2 separate regions of the Homo sapiens genome follow, and region 2 is linked to region 1. The links are contacts of gene promoters, found by promoter capture Hi-C in human tissues and cell types (Jung and others, 2019). All regions are on one chromosome and are shown on one strand. The core of a region is centred on a gene start or on the middle of the fragment in contact, and the rest is flanking DNA. Distances in the headings are between cores, read along the strand shown. Region 1 holds the start of ZDHHC1 (zDHHC palmitoyltransferase 1). Region 2 overlaps CBFB (core-binding factor subunit beta).

Region 1 (3,418 bases), core at 129-2,628:
CAGTCCAGCCTGGGTGACAGAGCGAGACTCCATCTGGAAAATAAAAATAAAAATAAACAAAAAATAAAAAACTCTTCTGCCGCTTGCAGTGGCTCACACCTGTAATCCCAGCACTTTGGGAGGCTGAGGCAAGAGGATCCCTTGAGACCAGGAGCTCGAGACCAGCCTGGGCAAAATAGTAAGACCTCATCTCTACCAAAACCTTAAAAAATTAGCTGAGCGTGGTGGCGGGTATCTGTAGTCTCAGCTACTTGGGAGGCTGAGGCGGGAGGATCGCTTGAGCCCGGGAGCCGGAGCCTGCGGTGACCCATGTTCACACCACAGCACTCCAGCCTGGGTGACAAAGGGAGACCTTGTCTCAAAAAAATAAAAAATTGGCTGGGAACGGTGGCTCACACCTGTAATCCCAACGCTTTCGGAGGCCGAGGCGGGTGGATCACCTGAGGTCAGGAGTTCGAGAACAGCCTGGCCAACATGGTGAAACCCCGTCCCTACTAAAAATATAAAACTTAGCCGGGCGTGGCGGCGGGCGCCTGTAATCCCAGCTACTCCAGAGGCTGAGGCAGCAGAATGGCTTGAACCCGGGAGGCGGAGGTTGCAATGACCCGAGTCGTGCCACTGCGCTCCATCCAGCCTGGGTGACAAGAGCGAAACTCCGTCTCAAAGAAAAAACTAAAACTCTTCCCATGGTTTCCTTTTAAAACAGACCCTCCATGACCAACCCCTCCATTTCAATACCAGAGAGCCTAACCCGACCTGAAATCACTTTAGTCATGTATGACATCCGCTTCCCAGCCCCCTTCCTTAATGCTCTGGGTTCTGGAGACAGACCACGTCTGTTGGGAGTCCTCTGTGCCCACGCCTGGCACAGAGCCTGGCAAAGAGTAAGCGCTCAAGGAAGATCTGTGAACTTGATGCATGCTAAAAGGAAGCCCCGCGCTCTGCCGGGGCCCTGGAACTCAGGCCACCGGCTCCAGGCGGAAGCGAGCCCAAAGCCGGCCAGGCGGCAGCATCCGCTACCCCGTGGCTCAAGCCAGGCTCCGAGGTGAGAAACCGGGCGGGGACTCCTCACCTGCGCGCCGCGGAGGCCGTGCCAGATGGGCCCTGCCAAAGTCAGCCAGAGGTTCGGGCCCCACGCCTGGCCTTCCACCCTCCCCGGGGCAGCCGCGCCTCAGACCCTCGCGGTAGGGACGGTCCCCGGGACTGGGCGGCAACGCGCCCGGGAGCGGGGCCCCATCCCGGACGGAGACTGGGCCGGTGAGTCCTCGAGCTCTGGCTCTGGCTCCGGCTCCGGCTCCGGCTCCGGCTCCGGCTCCGGCTCCAGCAGGCTGGAGGGGCGGCCAGGCCAGACCCAGACTGGCTGGGCCTCGTCCGGCGCTGGGCCCGTTCCCCTGACAACGGCGCGGGCTACGGCGCCCCACAGCGGCCAAACCGCGCTGCGTCACTCCGCGCCGGTCCCCCGGCCAGGGCGGGGCTTGCCAGGGACCCTCTTGGTGCCCCAGTCGGCCCATTCCCAGATTCTTCCTAACCTTTCGTCTAGAAAATCCGCTTTTCCCTACTCCCGAGTCACAGCTTGTCTCCCCGAAATCCTAACATCTCAAAAGCGCCCCCTTCCAGTTTCTATCCTGAGACCACCGCTCTCAAGAAGAGACCTCCCCCAACCCCAGTCAACCTGCACACTTCAATGAGCGTATGTGCTGGAACATCCATGATATCCCGACCCTTCCGGGAGCTTACAGGTTAAGAGGCAAACAGATCTAGACAAATAAATTACACCACTAAAAATGCAGGTACCCCAGAATATAAAGCGAGAAGCGTAAGAGCTTAAAATAAGCAGCACAAAATATCTCATTTATTTATTGCCTTTAAATCAAGCAAAAATCAAGCCCCAATCTTCCAGGCTGATGGGAAATTCAGTCTTTTTCTATTTTTTAAACTGGTCTCTGTTACCCAGGCTGGAGTGCAGTGGCACGATCACGGCTCTCTGCAGCCTCGAACTCCTGGGCTCAGGCGATCCTCCCGCCTCAGCCTCCAGAGTAGCTAGGACTACAGGCGAACACCACCACGCCCGACTAATTTTCGCATTTTTTTGTAGAGGCGTGGTTTTGCCATGTTGCCCAGGCTGGTTTCGAACTCCTGAACTCAAGCGACCCGCCCACCTCAGCCTCCAAAAGTGCTAGGATTACAGGCGTGAGCCCCTGCCCGGCCGGGAAATTCAGTCTCAGTCTCCACTGTACTCCTTTTAGCTAGGTAATTCCAAAGGACTCATGTTTTCCTATAGCAAAAAACAACAATCAAAAACAAATAAGCAAAAAACTCTCTGGTCAGGGTTTTGTCTGGTACTGAGGCCACAACCATTGCTCCAGTCCACAAAGATTTTCAGGTTTGGGCTCTATGAGGCCATCCCTGCCTGAGGCCCCTGCCTCTCCCTGGGGCTGCCAGGGACAGACACCTGCTTCCTCTGCTCCATGGCCTGCAGCCTCCCTTCCCTTTCTCTACCTGGGAGACTTCCCTGCTAACTTGGTTTCCCTAAAAGTCCCCTCTCCTCTTCTCCTTGTGGACACTCAGAATGGAATCTTCTATGAGCTCAGGCTTTCTCAAAAGACAGGAAGACACTTTGTCTTCTGCTATCTGTCCTGTGCGCATCTCCAAGGCAGATATGACAGATAGGGAAAGAAAACATCCTTATCTCTAAAATGTATAAGTCACAAGCATACTTATTGTATGTTTTATTAGGCAACATAACTACTCCTTCTCTGTCACATGACAGGTGTGTGGGTCCTTGTGCAAGTGACATAACCTATTACTTAAATTCTTGTTTTCAAGACTGATAAACTCAAACTCAATGTGAGATAAATATCAATGCTATTCTGGCTTCAGAGTACAAGCTGACTACTTAACTCTTATCTGGAATTGGAAAACTTCGGGTCAAACAGAGATCATGACCCAGAAATCAAGGTGAAGGATGAGGCTGGATGCAGTGGCTCACACCTGTAATCCCAGCACTTTAAGGAGGCTGAGGCAGGAAAATCACTTGAAGCCAGGAGTTTGAGACCAGCCTGGGATACATAGAGAGACTCCCATCTCTACAAAAGATGAAAAAAAATAGCTGGGCCTGGTGGCCTGTGCCTATAGTCCCAGCTACTCACGAGGCTGGGGCAGGAGAAAAGAATCACTTGAGTTCGGGAGTTCAAGATTGCAGTGAATTACGATCATGCCACTGCACTCCAGCCTGGGTGAAAGTAAGATCTTATCTCTCAGCTGGTCTCAGTGGCTCACACCTGTAATCCCAACACTTTGGGAGGCCAAGGCAGGTGGATCATGAGGTCAGGAGATCGAGACCATCCTGGCTAACACGGTGAAACCCCATCTCCACTAAAAGTACAAAGTAAGCCAGGCGTGATGGCATGTGCCTGTA
Region 2 (3,237 bases), core at 393-2,892, 310 kb before region 1:
GCATCATCTTTTCTAAATTCATCTCCATTAAAACTTGCCTTAAGCTACCAGATTGCTTTTGCCACCATTGGCCATACTGTGTGTTTGTTTGTTTAATTTACTTTCACAATAAACTTCTGTGTAGTAAAAACAGGGTCTTGGCTCTTTCTTGACCTAACCCAGTAATTTCTAAGAAAGCAACAACAGTGGCATCTAGTGGTAATTTCTGTTGATTCCAAAGAAGACTACTTTAAATATAGGTATCACAAGGTATACAAATCCCCCAGTGTATATTATGGTTTTCAAGAAATCTGGCTTGATTTACCCATCCTGTGAGATATGACCATAAAGTAGTGATGTTGGGAGAAAGAATTTTAAATTACACATCCAAATTAGTTCCATCTTTCAAGCTAGTTGTTTTGGAAATATACAGCCGTTTTGATTGTGCTGGTGTTATATCAAACATTCTTAAGACTCCTGGCATTTTCCTACAACAGAAAAGTAAGCCCTTTTCCTTGAAAGTATGCCTTAAGCTTGACACATGATAAACAGATTCACTCATTAACCACAAGACTTACTGCAAATGACAAAAATGCCTTTAAATTCTGAATTGACACCATTAAGGGAAATTCCAAAGAGTAGGATTCATGCTCTGAGAGTTAATTTCAAAAAATTGAGCAGTAACAGCATGGTTTTAGTAAGTATATCACTTCTAGAAACATAATTGGATATGCTAGCTCGGGGCTGCTTGGTGAAAAATATCTTACTTGATTTATGCCTCATTTGGCAATGAGGAGCTTTTCAATCTATAAACCATTGTATTATCCATAACACATTACCCCAAAACTTAGCAGCTTAAAACAATAAATACGTATTATCCCACAGGTGAGTCACAAATCTGGAAGTAGCTAAGATCAATGGTTCTGGTTCAGAGTTCCTCATAAGGTTAGAGTCATCCTGGGCTACAGTCATCTCAAGGATTGACTGGATGAAAGATCCCCTTTCAAACCCACTAATGTGGTCACTGACTGGCCTCGGTTCTTTGCAGCTTGCTAGATGAAAGGCAGATGTTCCTTGCTAGATGTTGGACAGAGACCTGCTTCCATTTCATGCCCAGCTGGGTCTTTCCATAGGACAGTGCACAGCAGGGTAGCTGGCTTCCCCCAAGGCAAGTGATCCAAGAGAGCGCACACCCAAGTTGAAAGCACAGTCTTTTTTTTTTTTTTTTTTTTTTTTTTTTTGAGATGGAGTCTCGCTCTGTTGCCTAGACTGACTGGACTGCAGTGCTGCAATCTCAGCTCACTGCAACCTCCCCCTCCCGGGTTCAAGCGATTCTCCTGCCTCAGCCTCCCACGTAGCTGGGATTACAGGTGCCCATCAACATGCCCGGCTAATTTTTGTATTTTTCATAGAGACGGGGTTTCACCATGTTGGCCAGGCTGGTCTCAAATTCCTGACCTCAAGTGATTCGTCCGCCTCGGCATCCCAAAGTGCTGAGATTACAGGTGTGAGCCACCATGCCCAGCCAAAAGCACAGTCTTAGAACTGAATCTTGGGCTGCCATATTGTATGTTAGAATCAAGTCACTGGGTCTGGTCCACACTCAAAGGGGGAGGAATATTAAGCTTCATCTGTTGAAGGCGGGGATGTCAAAGCATTTGTGGACATCTTTCTAAACCACCATGGTGATATTACCAAATATACGTAACTGAGTATAAGATACCTTTGGTGTTTTGCCGGGCGCGGTGGCTCACACCTGTAATCCCAGCACTTTGGGAGGCCGAGGCAGGCAGATCATGAGGTCAGGAGATCGAGACCATCCTGGTTAACGGTGAAACCCCGTCTCTACTAAAAATACAAAAAATTAGACGGGTGTGGTGGCGGGCGCCTGTAGTCCCAGCTACTCGGGAGGCTGAGGCAGGAGAATGGTGCGAACCCAGGAGGTGGAGCTTGCAGTGAGCCAAGATCGCACCACTGCACTCCAGCCTGGGCAACAGGGCGAGACTCCATCTCAAAAAAAAAAGATACCTTTGGTGTTTTAATCTAAACATTCTTTAAAGGTAAGATTTCAGTCTTGCAGATTTGAATACATGATTCCCCCTAGATAGCATCAACCCCTTTTCTTGCATCACCATCATATATTCATATATGGCATTTCAGAAATGTTCCAAAGCTAAAAAATGACAGTCACAGGGTGAAATCATGGATGGAAATGGCAGTTTAGTTTGTTTAAATATGGAATATTCTGAAACAGATAAGTCACTGTTTTAGTCAACTCCCAGCTTTTGGTTAGAAAATTTAAGCAACTTAGAATTAAGGTCGTTATTGGCCTCATTCAGATTTCAGAAATGTTGAGGAGATGTTGTAGATAAAAATAAAAGGCCAGGCACAGTAGCTCATATCTGTAATCCCAGCACTTTGGGGGGCTGAGGCAGGAGGATTGCTTGAGGCCAGGAGCTCAAGACCAGCCTGGGCAAGATAGCAAGACCTTCATCTGCACAAAAATATTTTTCTTAATTAGCCAGGCATGGTGGTGCACACCTCTAAGTCCCAGCTACTTGGGAGGCTGGAGTGGGAAGATCGCATGAGCCGAGGATTTTGAGGTTGCAGTGAGCTATGATCTTGCCACCGCACTCCATCCTGGGCCACCAGAGCAAGATATTACCTATAAAAATAAAAATGGAAAATGTTGAAGTTCTATTTTTTTTTTGGAGACTAAAAGTATGGTTATCATTTAGGGGGGGAAATATCCAGTGTCCAAAATAAACATGTTCCCTGCTCACAAGGAATCTACAGTCTAGCTAAAAAGCTGACCAAAGGCAGTAACACTGTTTAAGTTACATTAGAAGTACTGGCTCTTATAGTACATCTATTCTAGTCTGGGTGGTGAATAAAAGCTTCCCTAAAGAGATGTTTTGAGGGTGGGTGCGGTGGCTCACGCCTGTAATCCCAGCACTTTGGGAGGCCGAGGCGGGTGGATCACAAGGTCAGGAGATCAAGACCATCCTGGCTAACATGGTGAAACCCCGTCTCTACTAAAAAATACAAAAAATTAGCTGGGCGTGGTGGCGGGCGCCTGTAGTCCCAGCTACTTGGGAGGCTGAGGCAAGAGAATGGCATGCACCCAGCAGGCGGAGCTTGCAGCGAGCCGAGATTGCACCACTGCACTCCAGCCTGGGCGAAAGAGTGAAACTCCGTCTCAAAAATAAAAAAAGAGATGTTTGAGCTAAGATCTGAAGGATGGCAGACCTTAAGCTA

The links. The method cuts DNA at HindIII sites, captures the fragments that hold promoters and counts their contacts. A contact is called where the count stands out against the background at its distance.
Region 2: a contact is called between a fragment that was not itself captured here and the fragment with the promoter of ZDHHC1 in region 1, in 1 of the 25 tissues and cell types used here (dorsolateral prefrontal cortex).

The regions. Positions count from the first base shown.
Region 1 is chr16:67,415,099-67,418,516 of GRCh38, forward strand. It overlaps ZDHHC1 (zDHHC palmitoyltransferase 1), which reads right to left and starts at 1,379. Exons shown (of 12, transcript NM_001323627.2): 1 at 1,073-1,379. LOC124903702 (a long non-coding RNA gene) reads left to right here and starts at 805. Exons shown (of 2, transcript XR_007065093.1): 1 at 805-1,045. RefSeq lists a silencer at 1,046-1,435 and an enhancer at 1,268-1,925. The HindIII fragment of the contact is 12,498 bases long and covers 1-3,418 here.
Region 2 is chr16:67,100,929-67,104,165 of GRCh38, forward strand. It overlaps CBFB (core-binding factor subunit beta), which reads left to right. Exons shown (of 6, transcript NM_022845.3): 6 at 1-130. Among named protein-coding and RNA genes, the nearest start is that of PHAF1, 7.4 kb to the right of the region's middle. The HindIII fragment of the contact is 4,683 bases long and covers 1-3,237 here.